7 separate regions of the Homo sapiens genome follow, and regions 1, 2, 4, 5, 6 and 7 are each linked to region 3. Evidence: promoter capture Hi-C in 16 types of primary human blood cells and fetal thymus (Javierre and others, 2016). All regions are on one chromosome and are shown on one strand. Each heading gives the region's core, a stretch centred on a gene start or on the middle of the fragment in contact. The rest is flanking DNA. Distances are from core to core; before and after follow the strand shown. Region 1 has its middle 26 kb from the start of THOC1. Region 2 has its middle 27 kb from the start of ADCYAP1. Region 3 holds the start of CLUL1 (clusterin like 1). Region 4 overlaps COLEC12 (collectin subfamily member 12). Region 5 has its middle 3.9 kb from the start of THOC1. Region 6 overlaps THOC1 (THO complex subunit 1). Region 7 overlaps COLEC12 (collectin subfamily member 12).

Evidence for each region. The method cuts DNA at HindIII sites, captures the fragments that hold promoters and counts their contacts. A CHiCAGO score of 5 or more calls a contact.
Region 1: a contact is called between a fragment that was not itself captured here and the fragment with the promoter of CLUL1 in region 3, in 9 of 17 cell types (M2 macrophages, M0 macrophages, M1 macrophages and 6 more). The highest score is 38.4, in M2 macrophages.
Region 2: a fragment that was not itself captured here is called in contact with the fragment with the promoter of CLUL1 in region 3 in 1 of 17 cell types (activated CD4 T cells); the score reaches 5.1 in activated CD4 T cells.
Region 4: a fragment that was not itself captured here is called in contact with the fragment with the promoter of CLUL1 in region 3 in 5 of 17 cell types (M2 macrophages, monocytes, M0 macrophages and 2 more); the score reaches 14.5 in M2 macrophages.
Region 5: a contact is called between a fragment that was not itself captured here and the fragment with the promoter of CLUL1 in region 3, in 7 of 17 cell types (M2 macrophages, M0 macrophages, M1 macrophages and 4 more). The highest score is 16.4, in M2 macrophages.
Region 6: a fragment that was not itself captured here is called in contact with the fragment with the promoter of CLUL1 in region 3 in 4 of 17 cell types (M2 macrophages, M0 macrophages, monocytes and 1 more); the score reaches 11.9 in M2 macrophages.
Region 7: a fragment that was not itself captured here is called in contact with the fragment with the promoter of CLUL1 in region 3 in 5 of 17 cell types (M2 macrophages, M0 macrophages, M1 macrophages and 2 more); the score reaches 17.6 in M2 macrophages.

What each region holds. Positions count from the first base shown.
Region 1 is chr18:292,221-294,920 of GRCh38, reverse strand. No RefSeq gene overlaps it. Among named protein-coding and RNA genes, the nearest start is that of THOC1, 26 kb to the right of the region's middle. The HindIII fragment of the contact is 1,165 bases long and covers 709-1,873 here.
Region 2 is chr18:876,204-878,903 of GRCh38, reverse strand. No RefSeq gene overlaps it. Among named protein-coding and RNA genes, the nearest start is that of ADCYAP1, 27 kb to the left of the region's middle. The HindIII fragment of the contact is 1,192 bases long and covers 849-2,040 here.
Region 3 is chr18:595,675-598,374 of GRCh38, reverse strand. It overlaps CLUL1 (clusterin like 1), which reads right to left and starts at 1,387. Exons shown (of 10, transcript NM_001393344.1): 1 at 1,246-1,387. RefSeq lists an enhancer at 407-906 and silencers at 1,329-1,448, 1,509-1,638. The HindIII fragment of the contact is 7,229 bases long and covers 1-2,700 here.
Region 4 is chr18:333,135-335,834 of GRCh38, reverse strand. It overlaps COLEC12 (collectin subfamily member 12), which reads left to right. Exons shown (of 10, transcript NM_130386.3): 6 at 605-1,093; 7 at 2,692-2,700. Among named protein-coding and RNA genes, the nearest start is that of THOC1, 66 kb to the right of the region's middle. The HindIII fragment of the contact is 2,752 bases long and covers 22-2,700 here.
Region 5 is chr18:270,644-273,343 of GRCh38, reverse strand. No RefSeq gene overlaps it. Among named protein-coding and RNA genes, the nearest start is that of THOC1, 3.9 kb to the right of the region's middle. The HindIII fragment of the contact is 886 bases long and covers 811-1,696 here.
Region 6 is chr18:252,520-255,219 of GRCh38, reverse strand. THOC1 (THO complex subunit 1) reads left to right here. Exons shown (of 21, transcript NM_005131.3): 8 at 865-947; 9 at 2,608-2,681. Among named protein-coding and RNA genes, the nearest start is that of THOC1, 14 kb to the left of the region's middle. The HindIII fragment of the contact is 2,736 bases long and covers 1-2,700 here.
Region 7 is chr18:314,485-317,184 of GRCh38, reverse strand. It overlaps COLEC12 (collectin subfamily member 12), which reads left to right. Exons shown (of 10, transcript NM_130386.3): 10 at 1-448. Among named protein-coding and RNA genes, the nearest start is that of THOC1, 48 kb to the right of the region's middle. The HindIII fragment of the contact is 2,946 bases long and covers 1-2,700 here.

The sequences.
Region 1 (2,700 bases), core at 42-2,541, 300 kb after region 3:
AGGATCAACCTTTCAACCTACTGTACAAATTACCAATTGATCATTTGGGAAAGGAACCAAAGGAAGTCCTTTTCATCACACTAATGCAAAAAGACACACAAAGCATGACCCAGATATTAAAGAGGGGTCAGCACTTTTAGCGGATGCCATTCATGGTTGAACCGAGGAGGCTGCTGTCTGGGAGCCTTAAAAACAAAGAAAATGATGAAGGAAAGGTCGGGGAAAATACTGGCCAGGGTGAGACACAATGGTGAGATCAGGAGGATCTGAAAGGGGTCTGACTTCAATAAAAAGACAAGATGTAGAAGGATCCCATTTTTCTAGCTTCTTCCCCACTCTCCTAAAAATTTGAATCCAAATAGACAGCATCCGTGATTGCAATGTATGTACCCTTTCCATCATGGTTCCATCAATTAGAAGAAGAAGGCAGTAATTAGGATGATACTAGTTGCTATAACAAACAGACCCTTATAATAGTATATAAGGTTCAAAGACAAATAGAAGTTTACTTCTTGCCCTAATTCAGTGTGAGGTAGATATTCCTAGTTGCTTGACAGCTCTCTTCCACATAGTGATTCAGGAACCCAGGTTCTGTCATTTCTCAGGGCTTTGTCATCTTCTGCATCAAGAATCTAGAAAGAGAATGAGGATGAAGAGGGCATATGTGCCTCTTTAAAACCCTGGCTCAAAAGTGACATATAAAAAGCTTCTACTGACAAACCATTGGCTAGAACTCATTTATGTGCTATGCCTACCTGCAAGGGTGCTAGAAATGTAGTCTAGCTACATGCCCAAGAAAAAGAAGGAATAGATTTTTTGGTGAACAGGTAACCAGCTGCTTAGAAGCAGATGAATGCTTTATTCATGTCTGCGTGAATACCTCCTGCTGCACGTTGCAGCGTTTGTGGTAAGTAAACATTAGTGAAATAAAGGAACACTTGAATGACTACTGAAGTCATAGTAATAATAATTATAAAAGCAGTTATTGGGAGCAGATCATACGCACCATTCTAAGTCATTTTCACATATTATCTTACTTAATCCTCAAAATTTTGTGTTGTTTTACAAGTGAGGAAACATGCACAGAGAGATTAAGCAACTCACTGAAAATCATAGTGCTGGTAAGTAGCAAAGCTGGATTTTGAGTCCAGATTTCTTATTCTTATCCACTATGTTTTGCTGCCTCCCAGAGTGTAACTTTTAATCACAACTTTTATTCATGCTCACAAGAAACCAGCTTTTAGAATGCTATAACCCAAAGTTTCGCATAATGTAGTGTAGTGTTTCTCAGATTGGATTCATGGGTGGAGCCCATTGAGATCACTACGACAGTTCTTACGTTTTGGATTTCCATTGCAATGATAACCTTTAAAACAAAACCATGGAAGGTATGAATCCCAGCGTGCACATCTATATATGTAAATACATAATTTTCTATAATTAAACTTAATTTCTAATTTTGAGTCTACCATTCTACCAGGAGGACAGGCAACTTAACCTCAGGTCTCTTTCTTCCCCTCACCCCACATCTCCAGGGTTTTGTCCCAATTTCATGGCCTTTCACAGAGCTCAACACCAAAGGACGTGGGGGTGTGGTGTGGGAGGGATGACATCTGTCTAAACAAGTGGCCCCTGAGATGTGGCCCTCCAACCTCAGCCTAGTGCCTCCCGCTGACCAAATCTAAGCAGAAGCCAAAAGGCAAGAGGGCCCAATTATGCAATTCATACAGGTCAGCCCTCAGGGGCACAGATAAGGGTGGAGATGCAGAGTAGGTGTGGAGGCAGGAATGGAAGATAACCAACACACTGAAGAAGGGTGTACTCTGAAATGCCCCTATCATCTGGAAATTTAGGGAACACAAACCAAGAAGCTTGCGAGCAACAGCTGCTTTTCTTTTTTCTTTCCTTCTTTTTTTTAATTACTTTTATTTATTTATTTTTTGAGATGGGGTCTCGCTCTGTCACCCAGGCTGGAGTACAGTGTCGTGATCTCGGTTCACTGCAATCTCCACCTCTGGGCTTAAGCCGTCCTCCTGCCTCAGCCTGCCAAGTAGCTGGGACTTCAGGGGCATACCACAATGCCTGGCTAGTTTTTGTGTTTTTTTTTGTAGAGACGGGGGTTTTGCCATGTTGCCCAAGCTGGTCTTGAACTCCTGGGCTCAAATGATCTGTCCACCTTGGCCTCCCAAAGTGCTGGGATTACAGGTGTGAGCCACCGTGCCCAGCCCAGTTGCTGCTTTTCTGACCAATCACATCTCTCCAACAAGGTCATCAGCATAGAACCCAAGCACCTGCTTGAGTGGCTGGGGCAGGAAGAAAGGGAAGAGCTGTAGAAGAAAATCACAGAGAGAAATCAATCAATAATTAATTTCTCAGAACACTGTATCAGCAATATTAACACATTGTTTAAGCCTCTGGATGACCATCTGACAATGTTACTGCCCCCCAGAGTTCAGGGCTTGCATTTGCCTATAACAATGTACTAGAACCAAGTATTTCTTCATTCATCAACTCCTACAGTCAGGAAATATTTACTGAACACCTTCTATGTGCCACGCACTATTATAGATACTAAGAAAACGACAGTGAAAAAGACAGACAAACGACCCACCCTCAAGGAGTAGACATTCCAGTAACATAATTCTATTTTTATTACCATGCACTAATGAAACAAGACCAGAGGTGGTGTTAAAAGAAAAA
Region 2 (2,700 bases), core at 195-2,694, 280 kb before region 3:
GCATACACACGTACACACAGAGAGAGACAGATACACAGAGACAGGATTGATAGAGAGAGGTTTCCAGGAATGGGCTTACAAGAGTGTGGAGGCTGGCAAGTTCGAAATCCATAGGGCAGGCTAGCAGGCTGCAGACGATGAGGGAGGAGCTAATGCCACAGCCTTGAGGCAGGATTTCTTCTTTCTCAGAGAAACCTTGACTTTGCTCTTCGGCTTTCAACAGATCGAATGAGGCCCACACACAAGAATAGTCTCCTTTACTTAAACTCAATTAATTGTAGCTGTTAACCATATTTACAAAATACCTTCACAGCAACACTTAGATTAGTGTTTGATTGAACAATTAGGCACTATAGCCTATCCAAATTGACACATAAAACCAGTCATTACAATCTCCAACAGTTATTTAAATAACAGAATTCTTTTGGTCCTCCAATTACAGTTAAGACATCACAAGTTTTGTCTAAACTATCAATGCAGTCACTTCCAAAATCATGAAGAAACTATTATTATAATATTATTATTATATTAAACTATTATATACACAATGCTCCCAGCCCTCCCAAAATCATGAAGAAACTATTATTTAAATTTAATTTATATCAGTAGTATTTATTCATTGTTAAACACTACTTACAGCATCCGAATCTCAAATAGAACAGCTCTACCACTAGGAAAAAACCCTTAGTGGTTTTTGGATAGTGTTTTGAAAACATTTATTTATAGCCAAGAATTGCCAGGAATAACAGCCAAATTAATAATTAAATAGAAAGCTTTTATTGCAAAAGGAGCAAGCTAAAATAAATAGCAACCATCTGAAACTTTTCAATATGCAAATTCATAAAGCTTTTAGTTAACTGAACAGTTATTACAATAATAACTAACAATCTGACACCTTCGAGATCCCCTGGAGCTCCTGACCTTTAAATCCAAGAAAGCTGACAGGGACAGCCTAGCAATTCAGCCTGTGTGGGAGGAAATAAGAAAGAAACCAATGGAAAACTGTGGGAAAACACGGAGGCAGGCAGAACATATTGGGATGTGTTTTGCGTTATTATATACAGGGGAATGGGTTTTTATAGTCAATGACTAAAGTGAGTAAAACCGTATTTTTATTTTCTTATAACAGGATTTAATTGTTTCCCTGAGCTTCCATTACTATTAGCGAAAGTTTAATCTAATAATTTCTAGGTAAACTCAGTCAAATCAATCATTACAAAAAAATTGATGTTATTAGTTAAGTCAGAATTTTTTTCCCAGGAAAATCCAAGGACCTTATGTTCCACTTTAACCTAAAGGTATGAGTTTTAGAGAGCTTGTGGAAGTGCCTATATTTGAGTGGGAGAAGCAACTGGGGTTTTTTGTTGTTGTTCTTGTTTTTTGTTTTTTGTTTTTTGGTTTTTGGTTTTTTTGAGAGACGGTCCTGCTCTGTCACCCAGGCTGGAGGGCAATGATGCAATCACAGCTCGCTGCAGCCTTGACCTCCCAGGCTGAAGCGATTCTTCCGCTTCAGCCTCCTGAGTAGCTTGGACTACAGGCATGTGCCGCCACACCTGGCTAATTTTTTTTTTTAAGAGACAGGGTCTCACTGTGTTGTCCAGGCTGGTCTCAAATTTCTGGGCTCAAATGAGCCCCTAGTCTCCAACGCTTCTGCCTCCCAAAGTACTGGGATTGCAGGCATGAGCCCCCAGGGCCAGCGGCATCTGGTTCTTGATGGCTCTCCACCCTCCAGGGCCTCCACAGAGCTAGTACTCACCTTGCTGGGTCTTTAGTGAGGGGCATCTATGCCAGCTGTGGTTTCTCTTTCAAATGGGCCATGCAGCATCTGCTGACGGCTCCCCTTCATCGTGATTGGCAGCCACTTCTACTCCATCCGGCTTCTCTCAGCCAATCTTGAGCCTCTCTTGAGAGCACGAGAAACTTTCCAGTGCTCTCCTGTCCCACTCGCCATGACTGGTGGTGGGCAGTGTGGGGAACAAGACCCAGGCACCCTGCCTAGGCCACCACTCTCACAGGCATTTGCCACTGCCATGCCAAGCTTTGGTGGGAGGGGGCTTCTCTGCAAAGCTTGGGTGTCCCCCAGCCTTACTTGGGAAAGGAAGCACTCACACACCACTAGCCTACCTAGAGTCGAATTTATTATGCTACACACATGCACAAACACACATATAGAACCCAGGGAGGGGAAGCAGAACTCTGGGACCCTTCTCAACTCTACTCTCTGCTCTCACTGAACAAACGTGCTTTTCCCATTAGATCATCCTTTTGGATGGGGGACAGGTGCATGCACAGACCCCTGGCTCTTAGCAGTCACAGGATTTTCTCTCTAACCTATGTTCTCCCTTAGGGAAACTCTAAAGATATTTTTTCATAACGATTGTTTTTTATTTTGGCTGCTTCACCCCTCACTAGAAAAAACAAAGTTCCACAGATGTAATGAGCTGAGAGTTTTGGCAGAAAATAAAAGTGAAGAAAACCTTGATTTGTCCTTTCATGCTACAATAGCTACAATGTTCTAACAGAGAAACTATTTTTGTTCCCCGTTGATGATGGCACATATAGTGGAGAAATTTTCTTGGGTTTCAGGTGGTCTAACAGGCTTATATTTGAATCCCAGTTCCATTATGGTCCCTCTAATTGCTCTTGGACAAGTTACTTAACCTCTTTGAAATTCATTTTCCTCATTCTCCATACCTATCT
Region 3 (2,700 bases), core at 138-2,637:
AAACAGCCACATCTCACTGTTTGAGGGACCTGGAAAAACAGATCATCGTGACTTTCTTCAAGGTCACGCAAAGTTTAAGTGATTTTTACTGTCCCACATTCCAGCATGTCCTCTTCTATGCATTCATTTCCCATGGTAGTTCATCATTCTCTATTTATGGCATTTTTATTAGGTAACAGTATCTCATCTCTTCCCGATAATTGTGCTGCTGCATATTTTTAGAAACTTTTCCACCCGCCATTGTCAGGGACTGAGGAGTTGCATTAATGTTGAGTTTGAAAATTCTGTTCTTGCATCAGGCAGGTAAAAGTGGCCTTATTAGTATTTCTGTTTTCAATGTCTGGAGAAAAGTCCCAGGGAGAGAAAAACAAGATAAAGCATCATGTTGTCCACTGGTAAAATCTGTACGTGGAAAGTAGGCTAAGCTAGAGTAATCGGTTTAAGGTAGCAGTTAATAGTGTCTGCAGCTCTTTACTTCGTTAACCTCAGTTAACCAGGACCTGGCACAATGGGGATTGAAATCAGGGGGCTTATCCACAGTTTCCTCAAATACTGATTTTATCAAGTTGGGCTGATAATTCCATAAACTGTATGAGCATTGATAGTTAGATGTGATCGTTTTCAGAGTGATTCTTTTTCTGCTTGGGTTTATTTATTTATTTATTTTGAGACAGAATCTCACTGTGTTGTCCAGGCTGGAGTGCAGTGGCGCAATCTCGGCTCACTGCAACCTCCGCCTCCCGGGTTCAAGCGATTCTCCTGCCTCAGCCTCCCAAGTAGATGGGATTACAAGCATGCACCACCACAATCGACTAATTTTTGTGTTTCACCATGCCGGCCAGGCTGGCCTCCAACTCCTGACCTCAAGTGATCGGCCCCCCTCGGCCTCCCAAAGTGTTGAGATTACAGGCGTGAGCCACCACACCCGGCTCCGCTTAGTTTTTGCCAGTAGTTTTGCAGGGATGGTGTGTCTCCCCGCCTCTACCTCCTCCTCCTGTTTTGAAAAAGAGAATAAACGTATTGGAACAGCCCAGGAGATTGCCTGAGTTTTGCTGGCAGCCTCTGAAGCAGCCCACAGTATTTCTACCTTCCCCGGCAAGAACAGTGGCTTTGTTCTGTCCGCGCCGGAGGGGCCGGGCGTCTGCGGAGCTCGGCCTTGGACTTGGGAGCGGCTTTCTCTGGCTCTCCGGAGAAATGGGCAAGAGCGGCGAGGAGAGAAATCTGGGGCCCGGAGGATGTTCTCACCTGTCATTCCTAAGATGCGCTTGAGTGCTGCCCCCTGGAGGCGTCTGTGCCACCGGCTGGAAGTCAGCCGAGGGCACAGGGTGTCAGCAACCTCCAGGGTGGAAACCAACCCCGCGGCCCGGGCCTGCAGGTGACGCAGGGTGGGCGGGGCCTGCAGACGCCGGGTGGGCGGGGCCTGCAGGTGACGCCGGGTGGGCGGGGCCTGCAGACGCCGGGTGGGCGGGGCCTGCAGGTGACGCCGGGTGGGCGGGGCCTGCAGACGCCGGGTGGGCGGGGCCTGCAGGTGACGCCGGGTGGGCGGGGCCTGCAGACGCCGGGTGGGCGGGACCTGCAGGTGACGCCGGGTGGGCGGGGCCTGCAGAGGACCTGCGCGTCCGGATCTGAAGCGAGCAGAGCCCTCTCTACTCCAGCTGAACGGTGATGGTCGTCAGGAAGGAATGTGGGCTCACTGTGGAAAGAACATTCAGTTTTTCAAAAGAAGACAGAAATAGGGATGCTTATGTGAAATTCCTGATTTTTCAAACTTGGCAACTTAATTCAGTTAAAAAAAAAAAAGCATTTCTATGGCAGGACCACGAGTCATAGGTAGAACGCCTTGTACACATTAGAAAGAGAGCCTCGCTCTGGGCAGATAAAGCAGGAGGGGAAAAAAGTAGTGGGTCAAAGGTGCCTCTGAGCAGTTGCTCCCCTGCCCGACTGCTGGGCTTAATGCGATGGTCATGGCTGGATGTCAGCCTCCCTGTGGGGACACTGACACAGCTGCAGCAGCCCTGAGAGAGTCGCCAAGTGGGCCTGCCCATGCCAGGTGCTGTCCTTGGGCCCCAGGTTCACAAACTCTGGATGCTGGAACAGGTAGCCAGAGAGGGCAGGAAAGGCAGTGCAACTTGCAAGTCTACCCTTGTTAAAGGGCCCTACAATTGTAAAATTTCATGCCCCCCATATCCCAAACATCCTCTCCGTATTCCTGGATGATGAACGTTGGCTTGGGAGGCATGTTTACTCTAGGCAATATTTTTCTGAGGTTATTATACTCTGTGTGTGAGGAAGATTCATCTATGTATCCACTTTATCTTTTGGGAGTACATTTCACCTGTTGTTATTTTTAACATCTTCCCTTGATTGACCTGCTCGTGCTGGACCTCTTTAAATTATTTCTAATTCTGACAACATCCTGACAAGGTAATATAATTCCACTTACTTTACAAATAAAGACACTGAGGCTTCAAGAAGTAATTTTTCCCCAGACCAGCTAGGAAATGGCTGTGCAGAGCTTCAAACCCAGGTCTGTCTTACTAGGAGGCTGATGACTTTGATACTTCTACCTGAGATGGCAAAGTCTGTGTCTCTTCTCCCTGACGTCATCTAATGAAGATCTATGCTGTCTGAGCACTTAATGCCTAAGAATCTTCCATTTGGTGCCTTCCCCTTTCCCCTTTTTATATCTTTATAAATTTA
Region 4 (2,700 bases), core at 148-2,647, 260 kb after region 3:
TTACAATACATTCTAAAAGCTTGAAGAAGAAGGGTGAGCTTACTGAAGAACACACAGTATATTGGCTTGCTTGGGCTGCCATATACACAGTACACAGTACACGGACTGGGAGGCTTAAACAACAGACATTTCTTTCCTTACGGTTCTGGAGGCCGCAAGTCCAAGATCAAGGTGTCAGCAGTGTTGTTTCCTCCGAGGCCTCCCTCCTTGGTTTGCAGGAGTCCATCTTCTCCCTGTGCCCTCAAGCGATCTTTCCTCTATGTGTCTGTGACCTAATCCCCTCTTCTTTAAGTACACCAGTCCTATTGGATTAGGGTCACTCATGTCACCTCGTTTTAACTCGATGACCTCTGTAAAGGCCGTGTCTCTTAATAAGTCCCATCCTGAGGTGCTGGGGGTTAGGACTTCAGCATAAGAATTTGGAGGAGGACATAATTTAGCCCATAACAGTCTACAGTAGTATGATAAACAGATGGTCTTTCCCTGCTGTATATACTTTGTATGCTAGGTTTTTTTAATTTGGAGATTTTATAAGAAGAAAAATTATTCATAACTATCATTCACAGTGGATTTCATGTTGACACCTTTTTCTTTTATGCTTTAGGTCCACCGGGCCCCAGGGGTCCAAGAGGTGACAGAGGATCCCAGGGACCCCCTGGCCCAACTGGCAACAAGGGACAGAAAGGAGAGAAGGGGGAGCCTGGACCACCTGGCCCTGCGGGTGAGAGAGGCCCAATTGGACCAGCTGGTCCCCCCGGAGAGCGTGGCGGCAAAGGATCTAAAGGCTCCCAGGGCCCCAAAGGCTCCCGTGGTTCCCCTGGGAAGCCCGGCCCTCAGGGCTCCAGTGGGGACCCAGGCCCCCCGGGCCCACCAGGCAAAGAGGGACTCCCCGGCCCTCAGGGCCCTCCTGGCTTCCAGGGACTTCAGGGCACCGTTGGGGAGCCTGGGGTGCCTGGACCTCGGGGACTGCCAGGCTTGCCTGGGGTACCAGGCATGCCAGGCCCCAAGGGCCCCCCCGGCCCTCCTGGCCCATCAGGAGCGGTGGTGCCCCTGGCCCTGCAGAATGAGCCAACCCCAGCACCGGAGGACAATGGTAAGTCCAAGCCCTCCCTCCAGCCAGGGGGACAGGGCAGTGCATGTGCTTGAGACTGAGCCAACCCCCAGTGTGTGGCCCCACCCATGTTATTTTTGTTTTTGTTTTTGTTTTGAGACAGGGTCTCACTCTGTTGCCCAGGCTGGAGTGCAGTGGCGTGATCTCGGCTCACTGCAACCTCCACATCCCGGGTTCAAGTGATTCTCCTGCCTTAGCCTCCCAGGTAGCTGGGACTACAAGCGTGTGCCCCCACAGCCAGCTAATTTTTGTATTTTTAGTAGAGAGGGGGTTTCACCGTGTTGGCCAGGCTGGTCTCAAACTCCTGGCCTCAAGTGATCCACCTACCTTAGTCTCCCAAAGTGCTGGGATTACAGGTGTGAGCCACCACGTCTTGTCCCCCGCTGCATATTATTTAACAGCAAAGGCATCATAGGGGCTGGCACAGGAGCCCTGCTGCCAGAACAGGCCTCCATACCAGGCATGTGTTTCTCTCTAAACGCCATTGGGTTCTCTAGTGCTCATTTGTTTTATGTATTATGTGTGTATGTATGGGACAGGGTCTCACTCTGTCACCCAGGCTGGAATGACGAAGTGAAGTAGTGCAAACATAGCTCACTGCAGCTTTGACCTCCTGGGCTTAGGTGATCTTCCCACTCAGACTCCTGCGTAGCTGGGACCACAGGGGTATGCCACCACACCTGGCTAATTTTTTATTTTCCTTTTTGTAGAGACAGGGTCTTGCTATGTTGCCCAGGCTGGTCTTGAACTCCTGGCCTCAAGCAACCCTCCTGCCTCAGTCTTGCAAAGTGCTGGGATTCCAGGTGGGAGCCACTGCACCTGGCTCTTGCACTTGTTTATTTATAGGAGCCAGCCCTCAGAAGACAAACACAATGCAAAACATTTCCTTCAGGGAAGCCTGCTGGCCGCCCTGAGCGCTCTTCCCTCGTTTTACATCCTCACTCTGGAGATAGATGGGCTCCCTCGGTTAGCTCCATCAACATGTGGATGGAACCCTCTGCTATTGATGACTACATTTAATTTCTTTTTGAGAAAGGTGTTAGATGTTACGGTGCCTTCTAGTCTTTTGATAATTAAACCTTTGGCAAAACTCGAATGTTTGGTTAGCAACCAAGCCTATTTTTCTCTCCTTTGACCCAACCGCTATTCTACTTGATTTTGGTCGGTGAGGCCCGGGTTATTTTTGTTGATCCGTGAGCCCAGTTTTGGTGCTGGGTTCTCACATCCAAGTGTTCCTGGGTTCCGTATGATTCCAGACTGACGCTGAACATCTGTGCCTGCCCTGCTTCTTGTTGTTGCTTCTGTTATTTCTGTCATTGTGAAGACGGATCCAGACACAGAAGAACAAAGACCCAGTCAAAGATCTTTTCCAGATTATGTGGTTTTGGCTTGTGCTCTGCAGTCCACTTTGGGTCATGCTTGCTGCGAGCACGTCCGTGAACGTCAGCTGTGGGCCTCGTGCAGGGACGCTCAGGCTGCTCCCAGCGGGACCACAGTTTTGGCCTCTGAAACACAGCTGAAGAAAGGCAGAGTGCTTTCTGTGATCTTTTAATCAATGTTTTCCACTTTTGCATTCCTAGGCTGCCCGC
Region 5 (2,700 bases), core at 4-2,503, 320 kb after region 3:
GGCCAAGGTTGCAGTGAGCCAAGATCATACCACTGCACTCCAGCCTGGGCGACAGAGCGAGACTCCGTCTCAAAAATAAATAAATAAATAACCCTGCTCCCACACAGAATAAAGGCCTCATTAGGGTAGTAACTCTTCTTTGTTCACAGTGCTAGGTTCACATATATTTGTTGAGAATAAACAAAGAAAATATTTTCTGAATACAAATAAAAAATTACTACATGATTAGTATCTTAGGGCAGTGTGGTGGCCATGATAATGCTCTACTCAGATCTTCAGCTGCGGGGACCACAGTTGACTGACAGCTCAAGCTGCTACCCTCTGGATCAACCACCACATTTGCACCAAGGCCATGCTTTCTGAGGGTCCCAGTCAATGAATGAGGATGGCAAAGGTACTAGTACAGGCCCATTCTGACAAACTGCAGGACTCTTTGCAAAGCCAACCCTTTCTTGGAATTGCACTGTACCCAGAAACTTCTTACCCAATCCACATTCCTTCCTTTTCTCCTCCTGTGAGTGTCAGACCTGCACTGCTGTCTGCAAGTTCTCCCTCCCTGCTCTTGCTCTCTCCTTAGTAAATCTCTTGCACATCCAATGTATGGTGTAATGTATCTGTGTCTGCTTCTATGTAGACCCAAACGAACACAATCCGGATCTTCAGAAGCAAATCCTGAGGTGATAATTCATAAGCAAATGATTTGTTAAGATAATACTCTCAGGGAGAGAGAAAAACAGGACAGGAAAGGGGAACAAGCCAAACAATGGTAGAATTTCAGGCAAATCCCTTGACTAACCCTGCAGGGAAGCTTGGCATGCCCGGGCAAAAACTGACCCACTATTCCATCTCTCACCTTGAATTATGCTCATTATGTGGTCCAACTGAGCCCACCAAACAGGATTTTACAATATATGCTAGATAATGATATATACAGTACCTGCAATATAATAAAATAGTGCTACATATATATTTCAATAATATTATACCTTTGCCTGGCAGATAGTAAGCACTCAATATATTGAACAAACAGTACAATATCAACAATATAAAATGCTTGAAAATTGCCACTATGCTATAAAAATACAGCCTCCCTACATAGCTTTCATGAAAATTACTCTTTTTCCAAGAAAATTTAAGCTCTAGAGTATAAAGGGCCGTCCTTTTCCTTTTTTTTTTTGAGATAGAGTCACACTCTGTCACCCAGGCTAGAGTGCAGTAGCACGATCTCTGCTCACTGAAACCTCCACCTCCCACGTTCCAGCGCTTCTCCTGCCTCAGCCTTCTGGGTAGCTAGGATTACAGGCGCGGCCAACACACCCAGCTAATTTTTTGTATTTTTAGTAGAGATAGGGTTACACCATCTTGGTCAGGCTGGTCTCAAACTCCTGGCCTCAAGTGATCCACCCACCTTGGCCTCCCAAAGTGCTGGGATTACAGGTGTGACTCACTGTGCCCGGCCATTTTTTTCATTTTTATTCTTCTCAGTTCCATTCCTCTCACAATGCAGGAGTCTCATTCTTTTTATTCAACTTTGCCACTCAAACATCAGTTCCCTTTAAATAAATATAATTATTTCAATCCACTTAAACTACAAATGAGAGAAAGGGAGAGATGGCTGGGGCCCAAATGCTGAAAAAGGCAAACCTGCAATCCAACATCCTAATGTGGCCGACCAGTAAGCATGGAGCAAAAAGCTTCCTTCTGCCTAGACAATAGTCAGGATAAGAACTAGAAGAAAAGCAGATTAAACTGCATCCTTAGTCCTTTCCTCCCAGATCTTACCATTCCAATGGTAAACTGAACTCAAGTAAGGCCACACTAAGGAAAAAAAAGAGGAATGAAGATGTGAATGCCTAGAACTGATCTAAACCATCCATCCTAGATTCTCCCATGCAAGTTATTTCCTAACAGAGAGGCAGTCCTTCGTCCATCTTACTTCACCAGCTAGCATGAGGAAAAACAGGTGCTCAGTAAATATAAGTGAAAAGGTTACATGTTCCTGGATGTCTGCCCTCTGGATGTTATTACCCACTTAAAAACAAACAAACAAACAAACAAAAAAACAAAAAACAAAAAACTCTTTTTTTTTTTTTTTTTTTTTGAGATGGAGTTTTGCTCTTGTTGCCCAGGCTGGAGTGCAATGGCAGGATCTTGGCTCGCTGAAACCTCCGCCTCCCGGGTTCAAGCGATTCTCCTGACTCAGCCTCCCGAGTAGCTGGGATTACAGGTGCCTGCCACCATGCCTGGCTGATTTTTGTATTTTTAGTAGAGATGGGGTTTCACCATATTGGCCAGGCTGGTCTCAAACTCCCGACCTCAGGTGATCCAGCTGGCTCGGCCTCCCAAAGTAGTGGGATTACAGGCGTGAGCCACCGCACCGGGCCTATGTTTTGTTATTAATGACACTATGGTCCTCGCCCTTATCCAATTGTAAGGAAATAATTTCTGAAACATTGAATAGGCCCATGGTAAAGATTCAAGAGTTAAGACTTAAGAAAAATACAGGCTTTGGGATGACAGCTAGGCTCAAATTCCAAACTTAGCTTTCTCTAGCCATGTGACTTACAGCCAATGAGGCTGTATACTCATTAATATATAACTAAGTAAAAAATTGTTGTAAGGACTAGAAGCAATATAAGAAAAGTGCCAGGTCAGGCACAGTGGCTCATGCCTGTAATCCCAGCACTTTGGGAGGCCGAG
Region 6 (2,700 bases), core at 86-2,585, 340 kb after region 3:
ATGTGAGACTCATCCTTTTACTTGACACTTAGAATCCATTGCAGGATTATTAGTTGGCCTAAATTCAATATTGTCTCGTCTCAGGGAATAAGGAGGCCCAAGGAGAGAGAGAGAGTCATGGGAACGGTTGGTCGGTGAAGCAGTCAGAACACACACAGCATTTATTGATTGAATTTGCTATCTTACTAGCTTAGGCAACATGGCAAAAGCCCGTCTCTACTAAAAATACAAAAAAATTTAGCCAGGCATGGTGGTGCTTGCCTGTAGTCCCAGCTACTCAGGAGGCTGAGGTGGGAGGATCATCTGAGCTTGGGAAGCTGAACTTGCAGTGAGCCATGATCATGCCACTGCACTGCAGCCTGGGTGACAGGAGTGAGTCGCTGTCTCAAAAAAAAAAAAAAATAGTTTACTGTCTTAGATCTTAGATGGGCACAGTTTGTGGCAAAAACAAATCTGTGGCAAAACAATGACAATGTTAACCTCAAAGATCACTGATCACAGATCATCATAACAGATATAATAATAATGAAAAAGTTTGAAATATTGTGAGAATTACCAAAATGTGACAGAGGAAGTGAGCATATGCTGTTGGAAAAATGGTGCTGATAGACTTGCACGATGCAGGGTTGCCATTCAATTTATTTAAAAAAACAAGAAACTGTGAAGAACAACAAAACAAGGTATGCCCATACTCCAAAGGTACTTTTAAGAAATGAATTTTTGAAAGGATTTGAAAATCAAATGTGTTAATTTTGACTGCTCTTTATGGATTTGGCATTTTGTAGTTTTGATTATGACACAAGTTATACATAAGTTTAGGTGTCACTGGACTTGCTTTGCATCTTTTTTTTGTTTTTTTACTAGGTCTTAACTTGCAGAGTCAGTTTAATCTGGAAAATGTCACTGTTTTCAATACAAATGAGCAGGAAAGCACCCTGGGTCAGAAGGTGAGGCTGATTTGAAATCTTCTCAGATAACATATTTGCAAGTTTGTTATTAAGATAGTGGGTCCAGGCACAGTGGCTCACACTTGTAATCCTAGCACTTTGGGAGGCTGAGGTGGGCAGATCGCTTGAGCCTAGGAGTTCAAGACCAGCCTGGACAACATGGCAAATCCTCATTCCTACAAAAAAGTACAAAAATTAGCAGGGCATGGTGGTGCACGCCTGTGGTCCCAGCTACTCGAGAGGCTGAGGTGGGAGAATCGCCTCAGCCCAGGGAGGTCAAGCTGCAGTGAGCCTTGATCATGCCACTGTACTCCAGCCTGGGCGACAGAGTGAGAACCTGTCTCATTTAAAAAAAAAAAAAAAAAAAAAATTTCATGTAAATGGGCCTACAAGTCATCAAAAATTTAAAAACTTTTAACTTTATTTCCAACTTACAGAAATAATGTTTTGTATGTAAAAAATTCAACCAGTGTTTAAGATAGAATGTACAGTTATTCTGTAATCCAAGGTAGACCATGGTAGATTATGGCATAGCTTTCTATTAAAGTGGATTAACAAAGTAGCTATACTTTCTGTTTTAATAGTGTTAATCATAAGGTAGATTATAGAATAGATGTACTTTCTGTTTTAAACATTGGGTTATTTTTTGCAGAATATGTATTTTTTCTATAAATTCATATTATTTCTATAACCACTCATAACATTCTCTGTCTCACCATACCAGGACTTTTTGTGTATATGTACAAACATGTTGTTTTTCTCCAGAATGAGGTCATTCATACTATTCTGAAATTCACTTTCTTCCTTTAAGATTTAGTTTTATCTTAGTTTTTAAATGGCTCTTGATAAATCTCAGAGTGGATATATCACATTTCTCTGCCTGTGGACATTCAGATTATCTCTGATAGTGAAAAACAATGTTACAGTGTCTAGTAGTGTATAATATTGCATCAGTCTGCAGCGTCTGCATCAATTATGCAGATGTCTTTTTAGGATAAATTCCAGTAAGTAAAATTACTGGGTTAAAATATATGCATATTCCATATTTCAATAGCTATTGCCTGGTTACTTCTCAAAAAGGTTATACCAATTTATACAGCCACCAGTGGCACATGGAGAATGCCTGCCCTTTTTCCCCACAGCCTCACCCCAACAGTGTGAATTATCAATTTTTAAAAAATATTGGCTTAATTGATGTATATATTTGAAAAATAAGTCTTCTTAGTTTTAATTTCATTTCCTTGATCATTATTGGTGTTGAGGAACTTATTATATGTTGGTTGGAATTTATTTTTCTTCTGTGAATTAGCTATTCATGCTGTTTGCTCATTTTATTGTTGAATTGTCTTGTGCATTTCCAAAACATTTAGCCCTTTATTCCCAGAGGGAATCTATTGATTATGTTTAGAAATGTAGATTTGAAACTTTCTACTGTCTTCATGACTGTGTTATATCATTGTCATACTGCTCTTGAGTTCTTCTGTCCATCAGGTAAAATTCTGATTGCCTTACAGATTAACTATAGGTCTAGATAGTTAGTGACTAGACTTCTCTAACTGTGGGTTGCCTAGGAATGTGTAACTGACCACTTATTCTAGCATTTATCTCTTCTGTCTGATGACTGCTTCATGACAGGCTATACATTTTTTTTTCAATTTAGCACACTGAAGATAGAGAAGAAGGAATGGATGTAGAAGAAGGCGAAATGGGAGACGAGGAAGCTCCAACAACGTGGTGAGTTTTCAGAGCCTAA
Region 7 (2,700 bases), core at 27-2,526, 280 kb after region 3:
GCGCGATCTCGGCTCACTGCAATCTCTGCCTCCCAGGTTCAAGCGACTCTCCCGCCTCAGCCTCTGCAGTAGCTTAGGGACTACAGGTGCGTGCCACCATGCCAGGCTAATTTTTGTGTTTTTAGTAGAGACACGGTTTCGCCATTTTGGCCAGGCTGGTCTCAAACTCCTGACCTCAGGTGATCCACCCGCCTTGGCCTCCCAAAGTGCTGGGATTACAGGTGTGAGCCACCGTGCCCGGCCTACACACCAGCTTTCTATTCACCTACACACAACTGATGCTCTTTTGGAGTGGAGAGTTTTAGTAAAATATGATGGGGTCTTCAGGCACCTGAGTTGCTACTTACTACTATGAGAAGATAGAAAATGTTTTTTCCTCTAAACAGCTTTTGAAAGAATGAATGCACAACAAGGCAAAAAATAAAAACTTTCTTTTCCTTTTCTACGATCAATGTTCAACAACTCGTTCCTTCCAATTTGTAACAGAGTTGAAGCTGAAACAGACAAAAAATAGTAATAGCTGCTCCCATTTAAAGAAAAATGCTTGAGGAAACAGCTGTATAAATCAAGAAACAATACCAAGCAGATGACGAAACTGATCTCTTCTTGAGAACGTAAGCATGTTAGCTCATTCGTGACTCAAAGTCATGTAATAATAGTTGACATATACCACTTTTCACATACATTATCGCTTCCAGTCTTCACGCACATCTATTGTTCCTGCTTGAGAAATGAGGAAACTGAGGCTCAGGTTGAAGACTTGCCCATGGCTCACGTATCTGTCACAGTCACTTTCCAAAAAGCAAATCTGATCAGGTTCCCCACTCAGGTCCCCAAATCTGAATCCATCCTACCTCTCACCCTCGGCTTAAAATCTTCCAAACAATCCTGGTTGGGCTCAGGACATACCTGCAGGGGCCGTAAGGCACTTGGTACCTGGTTCCCAACTCCAAGTCTAGCCTTCTTTCCAGGTGGGACCCATCACCCATGCCCTGGCACTAGCACAGCCAGACTATGCACCTGCACCTTCCACTAGCCTCTTTATCACCTCCATACTCCCCCTGGGTTTTCTTTCCCTGCCTCCTTTACCTGGAAAACACCTCCTTTAAGATTCAGCTCAAGCATCACTTCTTATCTGAATCCTTTCCCAACAAACCACACCTGGAGGTAGAACTGGCTCCTGCACCAAGTGCTCTGGGTAATAAAAGAGAAAACCCCTTCACTGTGTTAGATAATCTACAGGTTAGCTGAAAAGCCTAAAACTTAATGAATTAAGACAGAGGCCAGGCATGGTGGCTTATGCCTGTAATCCTAGCACTTTGGGAGGCCAAGGTGGGAGGATGGCTCAGGCCCAGGAATTCAAGGCCAGCCTGGCCATCATGGTGAAACCCCATCTCTACAAAAAATACAAAAGTTAGCTGGGTGTGGTGGTGCTTGCCTGTAGTCCCAGCTACTGGGGAGGCTGAGGTGGGAGGAACACTTGAGCCTGGGAGGTCAAGGCTGCAGTGAGCTGAGATTGTGCCACTGAGCTCCAGTCTGGGTGACAGAGTCAAGACCTTTTCGAAAAAAATATTAAAAGCCAGGCGTGGTGGCTCACACTGATAATCCCAGTACTTTGGGAAGCCAAGGCGGGTGGATCATGGTGAAACCCTGTCTCTACTGGAAAAAAAAAAAATTAGCTGGGCGTGGTGGCAGGCACCTGTAATCCCAGCCACTTGGGAGGCTGAGGCACAAAAACTGCTTGAACCTGGGAGGCGGAGGTTACAGTGAGCTGAGCTCGCGCCATTGCACTCCAGACTGGGTGACAGAGCAATACTCCATCTCAAAAATAAATAAAATAATAAATAAATAAATAGAGAAGCCAAACAGGAGAAGTGAAGGAATTCATGATGTTGCTAATAGTTGGTGCGTGTGTGTGTGTGTGTGTGTGTGTGTGTGTGTGTGTGTGTGTGAATGGAAGATTGAGTAAAGGAATCACATGGTAAACCAGACTCATTCTCTTCATTCTCTTTACCAAAATATGGCCCTGAGTCAGGGAAACGTTTTGGAACCCGTCCTAAATGGCAGTGTGATGGGGCATCTCATTTCTTAGTCATACTCAACAGTTTTAGAAGTACAAGCAAATTTTTCAGTCTTTCTAAGAATCTGTTTCTTTGTGCAATAACTTCATTTTTCTCAGAAGAATCCCTTAAGGGCATGGCATCATATTTATTTTCTAAGTCACAAGGCAGATGTTGACAATATTTTGTTTCACTCTTTCATCCTTCCTCTCCTACATACCCCTGTTCAAATAAGTATGTAGCATGCACAGGTTATGCCAGGTGAGCAGAAGGCCAGAGGGAAGCAGACCTATGAAAACCAACTTTAATTTCTCAGAGGTTTTGAGTGGTTTTCACATTTTTTCAGTGAATGAGTATATGAATGAATGATCTCCAGCCAGCCCTGCCTTCATAGCCGGGATTGTATCCCAGCCTCCAGCCTCCTCCAAGGACTTACTAGCCTTGAGTTTGCAAAGCAAGGATCACCGTGCAACTTGGGGAGGGGGTCAGCTGCCAGGGCGGGGGCTCCTTCTGACAATTCATCCAGACAGGTGATTAAATGAGCTTAACCAAGGGGTCTCCATTTAGTCCTCTGGGCCAGGGATGGAGAATTGTCCATTGGCTGGTCTTCTAACATTTGGTGCCAGAGGTTTCTATATTC